Regions from separate parts of the Homo sapiens genome. Here region 2 is linked to region 1. The links are contacts of gene promoters, found by promoter capture Hi-C in human tissues and cell types (Jung and others, 2019). All regions are on one chromosome and are shown on one strand. The core of a region is centred on a gene start or on the middle of the fragment in contact, and the rest is flanking DNA. Distances in the headings are between cores, read along the strand shown. Region 1 holds the start of FRAT1 (FRAT regulator of Wnt signaling pathway 1). Region 2 overlaps SLIT1 (slit guidance ligand 1).

Region 1 (7,245 bases), core at 3,337-5,836:
ACTTGCTTTATGTAGAGAGGCTTTAGTTTTTCCCAATTTTCCTTTTTTAGGAGTGGGTTGTTCTGCATGGGCCCTAAGGTTGAGTCTGAACTTAACCAGTCATTCTTATTACAAGAAGCTATGCACAGTCGGTGCAGTGACATCAAATCATAGCCTATTTCAGGATGGAAAGCCCTGGATTGCTCATAACCCCTTGACCTTGGATAAATCGTACATCAACTAAGAATGGGAACTGGGGACTTCAGGGCTACTCCCATGCCAGGGGACATCAGCACCTGGCCACTTTCCCCTCATGCTCAGCGCCCAGAGGTGGTGCCCACTACACTATTGGGGGCTCCTTTTCCTCAGTTTGTATTAGAGCCTCCATAGTTACCCTTCCCATGCTGGAGAACACTGGACTGAGGCCCCCACAGCCCTTTCTGGGCATGTTGTGGGAAATGGCAGGCTTGGTGTGTTCTGAAGGTACTCCTCAGAGACCATCAGCGTCTGTGTGTGAATTTGAGAAAATGGGGCATTGAACCAAAAAGGAAGTTAGAAAATCAGGACTCGAAGTCATAGAACACTCCAGAAAGCAGATTTGGGATCATGGCATGCTCTTGTTTTGTGGGAAAATGAGGACACCTGGGACACCGCCACCTGGGAAGGAAGGGGTAGGGACTAGATACTGTTCATCTGCAGCATGTGCCAGTCACCATATGCCTTTTATTAATTTATTTTTTTGAGGCAGGGTCTTGCTCTGCCACCCAGGTGGGAGTGCAGTAGCTCAATCATGGCTTACGACAGCCTCAAACTCCTAGGCTCAAGCAATCCTCTTGCCTCATTTATTTATTTATTTTATTTTATCTTATTTGAGACAGAGTCTCGCTCTGTCGCCCAGGCTGGAGTGCAGTGGCGCGATCTCAGCTCACTGCAACCTCTGCCTCCCAGGTTCAAGCGATTCTCCTGCCTCAGCCTCCTGAGTACCTGGGATTATGGGCATGCACCACCATGCCCAGTTAATTTTTGTATTTTTAGTAGAGATGGGGTTTCACCATGTTGGTCAGGCTGGTCTTGAACTCCTGACCTCGTGATCAGCCCTTCTTGGCCTCCCAAAGTGCTGGGATTGCAGGCATGAGCCACTGTGCCCGGCCATTTATCTATTTATTTTTGGAGAGGTGAGGTCTCACTATGTTGCCCTGGCTGGTCTTGAACTTCTGGGCTCCAGCAATCCTCCACTTTAGCCTCCCAAAGTGCTACTAGGATTACAGGTGTAAACTACTGGGCCTGGCCCACCTTTTATTTCATTATCCCTGTTGTACGGATGAGGAAACTGAAGCCACAGAGGTAGAGCAACTTGTCCAAGGTTCCCTTCCCACTTCAGAAGTGGGCTTAAACTCTGGGTACTCTTTCCTCAGAGGGAGGAAATTAGCTCCTTCCATGAGGGAACAGACTGAAGTAAGTCAGAACCATAAGGATAGACATGGCCTGTTATGTCACTGCTTAGGGACAGAATGGTATAAATGTGCCAGGGGCAAAGACAGGAGTCTTTTGTAAGTTTCCACCCAGCTTTCCTACCACCAGGCTCACATTGTGAGCAGTCTCCTAATCAAGAGCTGCCCCAGCCTTAAGGCCCACCTTGTGGAACAAGTGCACTTAATGGCCACGGTGAGAAAGAAGAAAAAAAGAAAAAGAAAAAAAAAAAGATAAGCCTCCCAGTTTGCAGTGACTGGCTGATCTGATGTCCTTTGCTAATAGAGGCAGCTTTATAACACATCTCCATCACTGACTAGTAATCCAAAAGGCTCTGAGGTTTTAACGAATGGGATTGGTCCAAAACCTGACCTCACTTTCATTTAATTTCATGCCAGCTCCAATACACACCCAGCTGCGGAGACCTTGTCTAGCTAGTGAGCTGCTCAGACACAAAGGCGCTCTAATTACCATCCACAAGCCAGGCTGACAGAGATTTCAAGTGTTTTCATGTTTATGGAGATCAGAGAAATGTGTTCTGTACATCTTTTTCACTGATGGCAAGTATAAAATAAAACCAAACAAAAAACCCAACACATTTATTCAAAGCAGGCATTTCAGTTAAGTTAAAATCCTATAATCAGGATAGCCACAATTCCAGACACTCCGGTGCGAAGTGTAGATATGTCAGTAGCCACATCTGGATGATGAACAAGCCATTGACTATAAAAACGAGAACAACAGCACAGTCTCAGCGCCTTTAGAGTGAGTGAACAGTATGTTCCAAGCACTTCACCATGGTTCACAATGGCAAAGCCTGCAGCTTCTCCATTTGGAGGGTCACATTTTCTACTCGGTTTCCTGCACTTACAAAGGCCAGCTGGCATGGCTGGGGGAGGGGCAGAGGGAGGAAATCAACTCGTCTATCCAGGGAATTGCAGCTGTTATTGCAAATGGCCCCGGAGAGCCCATTATAAGCTGCTGTGCTAGGCTGTGTGTCCCTGGAGTGTCCATCACATGGCGTCTCCCTAGCCCCCAACCCAGGCCCCCAGGATCCCAGAGCCACCCGCTTGAGTAGGACTGCAGAGCCGAGTAGGAGAGGAGGAACCCAGGGCCCGGTCTCGGGAGTTTCCGTGAAAGCCCGGAGCGCGGCCAGGGGCGGTGGTCGCCTACCGAAGCACAGCCGCCCAGCACGTCCGCGCTTTCCCACACCCGCGGTGGCGGCGACGCGCGTGTCCTCAGGAGACTCCAGCACTTGCAAAACACTGCGCTCTTCTCCGAGCACCGGCAGAACCTGGCTACTCTGTCCCGCAACCCAGTGCGTGCCCAGGAAACAGTGACCTTGAACCGAGGAGAGGCGGGCCGGCTCTGAAAATACACTTTAGACAGGGCGTGGGGTTCACTCCGCGCCTCTCTACCCTTCCACCACCATTCAATACTCCCCGCCCCCACCTCCTTTCCCCACCCGTGTCGTACAGCCTTCCCCCACCACTCTGAGAAGAGAGACAGTTGCAAAGAGAGCGCAGGGGTTAACTCCTATTCAACCCCCAAAGGGTCCCTTCATGGCACCGCATGTTTGGTATTAAGCAGCACCTCCAAAGACACAAGATGGTTTTTTTAAGTCTGGCAGATTGGGCTGCACCCTGAAATTATCTACTCATGTTCTCCTCCCCCAAAGTGGATCAGGAGCCAGCCCTGAAAAGGTAAAGCAAGTAACTGGCATCATCCTCCGTGGTTCCGGCGCACCGCGATCCGGAGAAGCGTGGATTGTGGCCACATGGTCGCGGGGCTGGAGGGCACTGAGAGGCTGCGAGGAAATGCAGGCTCCGCGGCCAGGTCGGGTCACGCCAAATAAGGAGTCCTACTGACTTGTACGTTTGAGGTGCGCTCTGTAAAATCTGCCTTAAATAGGGCCAAAGTCCTTCATTCCAAATATTTTGGCCCTCAACCCCAGTTACCCGCGAAACACTCGCGATTTTTCGGTTCCTCGTCATTAGCTTTTTACTCTCGCTTCCAAAAGCCAGAGTTCTCCACCAGCCTGAGTAGAACTGCAGCCCTCAAGGGAACCCCTTGCCCTCCAGTCTGAGGCTGGCGCTGTGGCCACCCCGGGCGTGTTAGCTGCCAGGCACAAGAACGCCGTCGCCAGTTCTGAGCTGCGCCCTCCCGGAGGCGCCAGGGTCACTGCAGGCCGCGCGAGGGCTGCGAGGCGAAGGGGGTTCATGCACCGGGGCCGACAGAGGTCCCAGGAGCGGGCGTTGGGGAAGCTTTGCACGTAACTGCAGCCGTCGCGAATGAAGCCTTCGCACGGCCTCCTTGATGAGGTTTCCAGAGAGCACTAGCTGCTGCAGAAGCCGGTGCGGGTCGTCGTCGCCTGTGCGGGTTTCTGGTTGGGACCCGCGTCGCTGCTGCAGGCGGCGGGAGGCGGCGGCGCCCCGGAGCCATCCTCGCCGGCACGGACCCGACAGCGGCTGCGGGATGCCCTGCTTGCCAGCTCCCGGAGGCCCATCAAGGTCGGCCTGAGGGGGCAGTGGGGACAGCGCGCTGGGGCCTGTGGCGAGCTCGGCCACGCAGTAGGGCGCAGCGCGGCCCCGCACGCGGCCGCGGTCCCCCAGGGCGCAGCGCAGGACCCCAGGGGGCGCCGGGCCCACAGTCTCCGCCAACGCGGGCGGCAGCAGCAGCGGCACCGCCGGGGACCTGGCCTTGTCCGCCGGCACCGCCGCAGCCAGGGGCCCCGGGGCCCGCAGCGGCGCCCCCGGGGGCCCGCACGGCGAGGCCGGGCTGTGCTGCGCCGCGTCCAGCTGCAGCGTCTCGCCGATCTGGGCCACCAGCCGGTCCACCTCGCCCGAGCTGCCCAGCGCCACTGACTGCTGCAGTAGGAGGAAGCTGTCCTCCTCCTCTTCCTCCCCCTCCGCCTCCTCGCCGGCTTCCTCTTCCTCCTCCCTCCGGCACGGCATGGCCCCCTGTCTGGGCACCCGGAGCTGTGCGGGCGTCGCTGGGGGCTCGGCTGCCGGCGGGCGCGGTGGGCCGCGGCGGAGCGGGCGCGGAGCTGAAGACTAAGTCTGGACCGGGGCCGGGGCGGACGCGGAAGCCGGAGCCCGCCAGGCACTCTAGCCGCGCGCCTGCAGCCGCGGGAGCCGGAATCCTGCCGGCTCGGGTTGATTTGTAAACAATGGGTGACGTCACGTCGGGCCCTACCACCGCGCCGGGGAGGGGGTGCTGTGCCGCTGGGGGACGGCGCTTCTGTGGGATTGGGGGTCTGGGTGAAGCCGGACTGCCTTCTGAGCTCCTTCGCTCAGGGTGCTGTCTGCAAGGGCGCCCTGGGGACCTGATCCTGGCTCCCGCAGTCGGGCGCGATTGGCATTTCCAGAAATGGGCACCAGCGTGAACCCTGTTGGTTTCTTCCACACACAAGCAAGCACGCACACTAACACACACCCACCCACCCACACACCCCTTCTCTCCGTGCGTCAACTCAACCGGTTTTTAGCGTTTGCGCTTTTGAGGTCCGGCATGCGGGCGTCTGGTGAGGATGGAAAGGAAAGGGAGTCAGGCTAGGGATTTGTACGGAGATTAGGGAAATGAAGCTGACGGGAATGGAAAGGAAGAAGGGGACCTTGTCGTTCGATGGAGGTGGCAGAGTTGGAAATGGCAAAGAAAGGCCACAGATTAATGTTTTTTGATCGAGATCCTGGGCGGATGGGGGCCTGGACTGGGGTTGGCATTGCTGGAGAGGAGGTTGCTAGTCTTTTTGTTTATTTGTTTGTTTGTTTTTTTGAGACGGAGTCTCGCTCTATCGCCCAGGCTGGAGTGCAGTGGCTCGATCTCCACTCACTACAACCTCCGCCTCCTGCGTTTAAGCAATTCTCCTGCCTCAGCCTTCCGAGTAGCTGGGATTACAGGCGCCCACCACCACGCCCGGCTAATTTTTGTATTTTTAGTAGAGACGGGGTTTCACCATGTTGGCCAGGCTGGTCTCGAACTCCTGACCTCAGGTGATCCACCCGCCTCAGCCTCCCAAAGTGCTGGGATTACAGGCGTGAGCCACTGCGCCCGGCCTAGGTTGCTACTCTTTTTGTTTTGTTTTGTTTTTTTGAGACAGAGTTTCGCTCTTGTTGCCCAGGCTGGAGTACAATGGCGCAATCTCCGCTCACCACAACTTCCGCCTCCTGGGTTCAAGCAGTTCTCCTGCCTCAGCCTCCCGAGTTGCTGGGATTACAGGCATGCGCCGCCATGCCCAGCCTAATTTTGTGTTTTTAGCAGAGATGGGGTTTCTCCATATTGGTCAGGCTGGTCTGGTACTCCCGACCTCAGGTGATCCACCTGCCTCGGCCTCCCAAAATCCTGGGATTACAAGCGTGAGCCACCACGCCTGGCTATAGGTTGTTAGTCTTAAGAGGGGCTATGTCCAGAAAGTTGTTTAAAAAAAAGCCTCAGACCAGTAGGGGGGATGGGCTCTGAGGAGGTACGTAGTAGCAGAGAAAAATACCTGTTTGGATGAAAATGGAGATACGCTTCCTTCCTTCCTTTCTTCCTTTTCTTTCTCTTTCTTTTCTTTCTTTGACAGAATTTCACTCTGTCACCCAGGCTGGAGTGCAGTGGTGTGATCTGGCTGATTGCAGCCTTGACTTCCCAGGATCAGGTGATCCTCCCACCTCAGCCTCCCGAGTAGCTGGGACAATAGGCACGCGCCACTACACCTGGCTAATTTTTGTATTTTTAGTGGATACAGGGTTTCGCCATGTTGGCCCGTCCGGTCTCAAACTCCTGGACTCAAGCAATCCCTCCTCCCGAAATGCTGGCGTTACAGACATGAGCCACCGCGCCCAGCCTGGAAGCAACTTTAAAATTCTGAGCATGATATAGAAAATAGGATACAAAGAAAGAAATGAGCCTGGAGATCCAGATAAATAGAAAACGAGGGTCTTGTTGGGCAGTTCCAACGATAATAATTATAGGAGCAAACCTTTAGGAAGGGATGAGTGCAGGAAAGAGGTAGGGAAGTTGGTTTAAAAAGAGTTGGGTTTGTTTTTGTCAAGTGTGGAGGAAAAAATGTAAAAACAGAGGAAGAGACAGTTTAAACAAAGCCATTGGATTTCTAATCTACGAAATCTGGATTTCTACAGGGTGTCATAAGGTTCATCACCTTGTTTTTGTGGATTCCTTAGGATTTTCTATATAGAAGATCGTGTCATCTACAAATAGAGATAGTTTTGCTTCTCTTCTTTTTCTTTTTTCTTTTCTTTTTTTCTTTTTTTTTTTTTTTGAGACAGGGTCTCATTCTGTGGCCCAGGCTGGAGTGCAGTGGCATGATCTCTGCTCACTGCAGCCTTGACTTCCCCAGGCTCAGTTGATCCTCCTATCTCAGCCTCCTGAGTAGCTGGGACTACAGGTGCAAGCCACCATGCCTGGCTAATTTTTGTATTTTTTGTAGACCCAGGGGGTCTCACCATGTTGCTCGGGCAGGTCTTGAACTCCTGAGCTCAAACGATCCGCCCACCCCAGCTTCCTAAAGTGCTAAGATTACAGGCATGAGCCACAGCACCTGGCCCTGTCTTATTCCTGATCTTAGATGAAAACATTCAGTCTTTCACAACATTAGGTAGGATGTTAGCTGTGGATTTTTCATAGATAGTATTTATCAGGTTAAGAATGTTCCCTTCTATTCCTGGTTTGTTGGGCATTTGTTGTTGTTGTTGTTGTTGTTGTTATTGTTGTTGTGATGGAGTCTTGCTCTGTTGTCCAGGCTGGAGTGCAGTGGCACAATCTTCGCTCACTGCAACCTCTGCCTCCCGGGTT
Region 2 (7,245 bases), core at 2,046-4,545, 250 kb after region 1:
CTTGGTGAGCTGCAGCTGAGGGGTTGGTAGCTGCTCTTCCCTCTCTCCACTCACTAGGGGTGTCTGTGTCTAAGTCTCCCCACCTCAGCCCCCAAAGAATAGGAGTTGGCACCTCCAACCCTTGCTTTGAAATGCTAACCAGTACAGAGGTTATAATCTGGTTTGCTTTGGCTCCAGCTGGGGACATTAAAACATTTTACACCTTTCCTCTGCTGGAGGCAGCACTTCTCAGACTTCAGTGTGCACCTGAGACACTGAGGGATCCTGACTCAGGAGGTGGGACCCAGAAAATCTGCTTTTCTATCAAACTTCCCGGGGATGACGATGCTGCCAATCCACCAGGTGCCAGGGACTCACTTGCTGAGTTATCTGCAGTGGAATCCCGGGCAGCCACTTATTGATAACAGTCGTGTGAGGCTGCCCCGTGCTGGCACCAGCTACCAGTGGGCACGCTGAGTGTGTGACACACACAGCATGTAATCCCATCCTCCCAGCATCCCTGGGAGGTCAGTATTGTTGCAGATGTTGGGAACTAACTGTGGTCCTGCCAGAGGTCATGGAGTGGGTTGGCGGCCTTGAGCCTCAGCCTCCTGACTCCCAGGCCCTGACCCTCCCTCCTCCTCCCTACAGAGCCCAAAAGGCAATTATTAAAGTGTGGGCAATGGCAGCCAACTCTGCCAGTCCTGGCTGAGGCCCCACACTCAGCTGTGGTTAAGCCATATGATAATTATTCCCATTTTACCATGAGAAGACTGAGGCTTGGGGGTTAGAAGATGTGCATGAGGCCAGAGCCTGAGTCCTTAATCCAACCATCTTCTGACAAGGATCTAAGCCCCCAGATGAGGTGCCCTGGTACCCTTGGGGTGCCCTGGTTCAAGGTAACCACTCGGGCTGCAGGGGGCCGAGGGGACAGGCCAGGCTGCCCAGAGCTTCCATGTGGCATGAAAGGCAGACAAAGTAAGGCCTGTGCCCTGCAGTGGCGCCCGAGTGGGCAGCAAGAACCCAGAGCCCAGTCCAGCCTTGGCAGGTGCCCAGCAGCCCTCTGTGTACTCCCACCCCTGCCCCCACTGCTAATCCCCTTAGAGGCTGGTCTGCCAGCAGGGACCAATCAGGTTAGAGCGTGAAGGCAGATTAGCAGCCAGAACATGGGGTCTTGACCTCAGCTTCCCCAACCCCTGCCTCCTCCAGCCCTGGGAGAGGATGGGGGGATTGGCAGAGTGTGCAGAAGGAGGGGCAGCCAGAGCAGGGTGCCTGGGGATGGTGCCAAGTCAGGGTGTGGGCCTGGCGGCCCCCTTGTCTTCAGGGGCGGGCGGCCGACTGGGGTTGCCCGATGCTTCCAGGCCAAGTGGGGGCTGCTCTTGGTGGAGCTTGCCTCCTGGGGTGCTTGATCTTGGCAATGGGGTTCATGCTTTGTCTGCAGGGCCCTTGCCTTGAGCTGGTGTGAACTTGGAACCACTTGAGGGTGTTGGTTGTTAATATCCTGAAGGATGTGTGAAGGGAAGAGGTGCGATTGTTACATCATCCACAATAACAAGTGCTTGCTCGTGCCTGCCTTCCCCTTCTGAGCCTGCATCTCACTGGGTCTGCAGCCTGGTTAGGCAGAGCAGGTACAAGTGGCCGCAGCATAGGTGGGGAGCTGTGGTCTCTCGCCATGCACAGCCAGCCTGTCTGGCCCTGAGCTCCTGCCTCTCCCTTGGCCAGTCCTAACTACTTGTTTTGGCCGGGAAAACGGAGAGGGATTAGAGCAGAGGACTCATGTAAGGATCCATTTTAGTTCATTCAGCTAAAAATTACTAAGTCTCTGCAATGTGCCAGGATATAAGGGAAAGTGAAGGAGAGTGTCTGCTGGGAGGTTATGGTCTGGAGAGGGAGATGGACGTTCACCAGAGTCAGTACTTCATCACATTCGGTGCACCTGTATTTTATTACAAGCCTGGGTTGTGCCGAAAAGTAAAAGTGGGGGTGCTAGGAGCCTGTTGCAGATAGAGCAGCTGACTCAGGCTCAGGGGAGGTGTTTGTAGACTGAGGTGTGAAGGATAAATAGCGTTTCCTGGGTGAAGGTGAGGGAAGAGTATCCCAGGCAGAAGCCACAGCAAGTACACAGGTCCTGTGGATGTCAGGAGGGGTCTGGGAAACTGGAGGAATGTCAGCAGAGGTGAGGGAGTAGGCAGCGGCACCTCTCCCATCAGATCCTGCAACATAAGTGCCGCTTTCCATCCCCATGTTGCAGATGAGAAAACTGGGGCCAGAGAGGTTACATGACTTGCCCGAGACCACACGATTTAAGTGAGTGGAGCCAAGTCTCCCCTGTGACACCCAGCTGTGGGCTTTGTCCTCAGCACCCTGGCCTCTCCGTGAGTGCTCCCTGGACCAGCATCCCCGCATCCCCCAGGTGCTTGTCAGAAGTCTGGGACCTTGTCCCGCCCTTCAGCTTCTGCCCCAGCCCTGTATCTCCCCAGCGCTGTCCTGGGTCTGACTCTGGGGATCTGTCATGGTGCCCTCGTCACTGTCCTGCCCCTGCCCTCCTTCTGAACCCCTGTCTGGCTCCGCTTCCCCGGGCTGGGACAGGCCCTGGCTGCCCTGGGCTTGGCTGTTTGTCCTTCCAGTCGCAGATCCCGCCCGCTTCCAGGACGGCAGTTCTCAGGGTGTCTCATTCTGCCCAGACACATCCTGGCCATCTCCTCACTTCAGGGCGTTTGACAAGGCCGCGTGGGAGGAGGACGGGCAGCAATGACTGGGTCTGAGGAAGATGAAGGTGGCCCAGAGCTCCCGGAAAACTGATGGGGAAAGGCTTAGGTGGTGCTTTTGGGGGGTTTCCACACAGACCAGGGGCAGAAGACATGATAAACTTTATTTCAAAGGGATTTGGGAAAGATGAGACAAGTATTGGCAAGGTAGGAAGTCAGTTGGAGCAAAAAGAAAAAAAAAGAGAATAGCTTTGTTCTGCTAGTTTGCGATGTGGTTGAGGCATCCAGGTCCAGGGAAGGCTTCTGGCGCCCCCTCGTGGGAAAGCTTGAAACAACAGAGCCTTAGGGTTGCTTAGGCTGTGCTTCGGGCAGGGACAACAGCCCGCATTTCTTGAATGCTGCTAAATGGAGGTTGTGATTCAGAAGCTTAAGTACATCAATTCACAATCTTCTCCAAAGTCCCACGTGGTAGTTATTTTACAAATAGGACACCTGAAGCTCTCAGGTGCAGAACTTCTCGAGGTCCATGGTTGGTCAATAGCAGAAGCAGGAGTTGAACCTGGTCCTTCTCTCTACAGGTGCAGGCTCCTTCTACCACCCGCTTTGCTGCCATCAGGCTGCATTTTCCTGAGGCTTCCAAGGTTCACCTGTTTTCCTCTGGCCTCTCCTGGGGCCCCAAATTCACTTTCCTGTCTTCATTTAAACGATGAGGGCTGGTTCCGGCTGTGGGCTGACTGGCCAGGGTGGGACAGTTCCACACCCAGCTTTGGGCCATCTCTTATCTCTTGATGGCCGTTGGCATCACCTGCTGCCTGCCTGCCTGGGGGCTGTGTCTTTCCTCTTTAAGCTTTGGTGCCCCAGAACAAAGCCTGAAAGATGGTCAGAGCTGGGCACAGTGCCCGTGCCTTTAGTCCCAGCTACTTGGGAGGCTGAGGAGGGAGGATCACTTGAACCCAGGAGTTTGAGACCAGCCTGGACAACATAGTGAGACCCTGTCTCTACAAAAATATTTTTTAAAAAATTAGCCAGGCATGGTAGCATGCGCCTGTAGTCCCAGCTACTCAGGAAGCTGAGAGAGGAAAATCACCTGAGCCCAGGATTTCAACAGTGCAGTGAGCTGTGATTGAGTGACTGCACTCCAGCCTGAGTGACAGAGTGAGATGCTGTCTCTAAATAAATAAACAAAATAATTAAAAAGATGGTCATATCACAGCCCTCTCTGTTCTATCCCATCACTCTCCCCGGCCTGTGTGAGGCTTCTCCCAGCTGACACTTGCTTCCCAGAGCCTCTGCTCCTCCCCAGTCATACCAGGCTCTCTCATGCCCCAGCGTCTTTGCATAGACTGGGCCTACCTGGAGTCTGCCTCTGCCTTCTTCCTCTTCCCTACTTAGTTCCTGGTGTGAGTCCTTATAGAAATGCATTTGCTGAATTGTACTTTGATGCTATTATAAGAAACAGACACTCAAACCCCATTAATTATAAGGATCTAGTGTTATTGATTAGGCTACACTGTCATTTTTAATAAACACCCCTGGGAAAATTCTTGCCTCATCTGAGTGCCACACCAGCTGTACTCCTGAGAAGCTGATCCTTTTAGACTTATACGTGTCCCGTGGGCGCTGTGAGCTGACTGGCTCTCCTTTCACGCTGGCTTTCAGTGAGAAAGCTCAGAGCCCCGCTCAGCCCAGCCTGGCATGTGGTCACATGGTGCATGCATTCTTAGTACCCGCCATTGATTCCTCCTCTTCTCTGTGCCTCATTTTTCACTCTTGCTCTCTTGCTGTTTTGAAAATCCCTATAAGCCACCTTAAAGGCTTTCTAGAACAAGGTTGGGTCTAAATCGATAAGCAAATCAATACGAATAAAAAAACCTTCCTTGCAGGGTTGTGGTGAGGATTAAATGGAATAATGAATGGATGTGAGTGCCGGCCCAGCGTTCCTTCCCAGGCTTGGCCAAAGGGTGAGTGGTCGGCTGGGCTGAGATGAGGGTCCCACTGGAGGTCCCGCCTTCCTGACTCTGTGGACGTCCTCAGGCCACCACTCCTTCCTGCCTCCATCTGGCTCTTAATGCACATGCTCTCATCTCCCTGAGTCCCTGTGGGTCAGCAAAGGTGGCAGGCTGTGTCTGTCTTCTCCCCAGACCCCGTCTTTCAGTAGGTGTATGGCCAGCAACTTTCCTCACCTCCTTTCTGGGACCCCAAATCCTCTAAAGAAGCAACCACCTCACTTGATGTGTGTCTTAGTCTGTTCCAGCTGCTATAACAAAATATTGTATTGGGAGGCTGAGGTGGGTGAATCACTTGAGGCCAGGAGTTTGAGACCAGCCTGAGCAACAAAATGAGACCCTGTCTCCACCCGTAGAGCATCTGTAGTCCCAGCGCATCTGTAGTCCCAGCTACTCAGAAGGCTGAGGTGGGGAGGATCGCTTGAGCCCAGGAGTTCAAGGTGACAGTGTGCTATGATTGTGCCACTGCAGTCTGGCCTGGGTGACAGCAAGACCTTGTCTCTAAAAAAACAAAAACAAAATGCCGTAGACCAAGTGGCTTATAAACAGCAGAAATTTATTTCTCACAGTTCTAGAGGTGGGAAGTCCAAGATCAAGGTATTGGCAGATTTGGCGTGTGGTGAAGGCTGCTTCCGGCTTCATAGACAGTGCCTTCTAGCTGTGTCCTCACACGGAGGAAGGGGCAAGGCAGCTCTCTGCGGTCTCTTTCATAAGGGCACTAATCCTATTATAAGGATGGAGCTCACATGACCTATCACCTCCCAAAGTCCTCACCTCCTAATACCATCACATTGGAGATTAGGTTTCAACCTATGCCTTTTTTGAGAGGAAACGATAATTCAGACCATAGCAATGTGTCTTGCAGGCATGTGGTTGGGTCTGCACTGGTGAAGAGCTTAGAAATCTTCTGCTCCAGCCTATGAATTGGACAAATGAGGAAACTGAGGCCCCCAAAAAGAAGTGATGTAGCCAAGTCTCTAACATGATTTCAGCCCATTAACCTGGAGCCTAAGCATGCCCCTCCCTTCCTTAGGGTCATGCCTCAAAGCAACGCTGGATGAGTCATCAATTGTGCGTAACCAATGACTTCAAAACACTGCGGCTTTCAAGAACAAACAATAAACATCTCACAGTCTCTGTAGGTGGCTGGGTGGTTCTGGCTTGGGGTTTTTCATGAGATTGCATCACAATGTTGGGGGGTTGTGTCATCTGAAGGCTTGGCTGGGGCTGGAGAATGCACTTCCTTGATGGCTGGCTCACAGGCTGGCAAGCCTGTGCCTGCTGTTGGCGAGAGGCCTCGGTTCCTCTCCATGTGGGCCTCCCCAGAGAGCTGCTTGAGTGTCCTTATGACCTGGGTTGGGTTCTCCCAGAGAGGGCAAACCCAGAAGGAACAAGGAGGGAGCTACAGTGTCTTTTATGATCTAGTCTCGGAGGTTATCCATTACCGTTTCCATCATATGTGGTTCTTCAGAAGTAAGTTACTGAGTCCTGCCCACATTCAGGAGGAAGAGAATGAGCCTCTGTCTTTTGAAGGGAGGAATGTCAAAGAATTTGTGGATGTCTTTTAACTACCACAACCTCCCACGTACACACACCAGTCATACGAAACCACATGAGATTCCCCCAGCCTGCCTTGTTCCTTCCTGTCTCTGGGTTTCTGCACATGCTGTTACCGCTGCTTAGAACACCCTTTCCTCATTTTCCATTTCTGTCTGGGACACATCAACTCTTTAAGATCCGGTCAGAGATCACCTCTCCTCCCTCCAGCGGACTTGTTCACTCACTTCTCTGCACTCTCCCATCTCTTTGGCAGTACTGCTCCTCCAGCCATTGTTGAAAGCTGGCATGTACACCCCATGAAAGCAAGTCTTTGGGGGTCCCCAGCAGACCATCAGCTTTCAGTACACATTTCTGGGGTGAAGGATTGAAGGTCCACTCACTGGTTTCCCATCTGTGCCCTCTTCTGGGCATGAGTGCTCTAGGGTGGACCATGCACCTGTGGTTAGCTCTGCATCCACAAGCCCAGCCCGGTCACTGGTGCCTGTGGGCACTCCATCAAGGTGAGTTTGGTTTCATGTTGGGCTCCCATGTCAGCCTGGGCTCCTGGTTACTGAGGAACTCGCATGACCATGAGCTCCAGTGTGGGCAGTCTGTTGTTTACCTGTGTGGCCTGTACAGCCCTGCTCTAAATCCAGTAATTTCCCTGCCAGCCCACTCTGCCCAGTGGCAGCATCCCACTTAGGAAGATGGAGAGAACAAGTCCACAAGTCCACAGACCAGGAGAACCATCAAGCCATTAGGGCAGGCACCACCAGGGTAGCAATTTCTTATATGAAGCAGAGACACTAAGAAGAGGATGTGGCAGCCAAGGAACTCTCTAGGCAAGGAAGAGATGATAACAAGGATTAGGCAGGCAAAGACTGAAATGAGCCTCTCAAGACATATGGGGCTGGGGGAGTTGCTGCATAAAGACAGGCATCGGGGAGTAGGCCACTGGGGGCCCTCTGGGGAGTAGCCTAAATGGGCGGAATCTGGGGAATGTCTCCAGGAAT

The links. The method cuts DNA at HindIII sites, captures the fragments that hold promoters and counts their contacts. A contact is called where the count stands out against the background at its distance.
Region 2: a contact is called between a fragment that was not itself captured here and the fragment with the promoter of FRAT1 in region 1, in 4 of the 25 tissues and cell types used here (hippocampus, lymphoblastoid cells, mesenchymal stem cells and 1 more).

Annotation. Positions count from the first base shown.
Region 1 is chr10:97,316,612-97,323,856 of GRCh38, reverse strand. It overlaps FRAT1 (FRAT regulator of Wnt signaling pathway 1), which reads right to left and starts at 4,586. Exons shown (of 1, transcript NM_005479.4): 1 at 1,942-4,586. The coding sequence starts at 4,403. The coding sequence ends at 3,564. RefSeq lists enhancers at 3,202-3,361, 4,451-4,745, 4,483-5,272 and silencers at 3,702-3,801, 4,302-4,611. The HindIII fragment of the contact is 12,338 bases long and covers 1-5,830 here.
Region 2 is chr10:97,068,789-97,076,033 of GRCh38, reverse strand. All of the region lies in intron 4 of SLIT1 (slit guidance ligand 1), which reads left to right. Among named protein-coding and RNA genes, the nearest start is that of SLIT1-AS1, 30 kb to the left of the region's middle. RefSeq lists a silencer at 2,908-3,202 and an enhancer at 5,040-6,239. The HindIII fragment of the contact is 4,308 bases long and covers 1,142-5,449 here.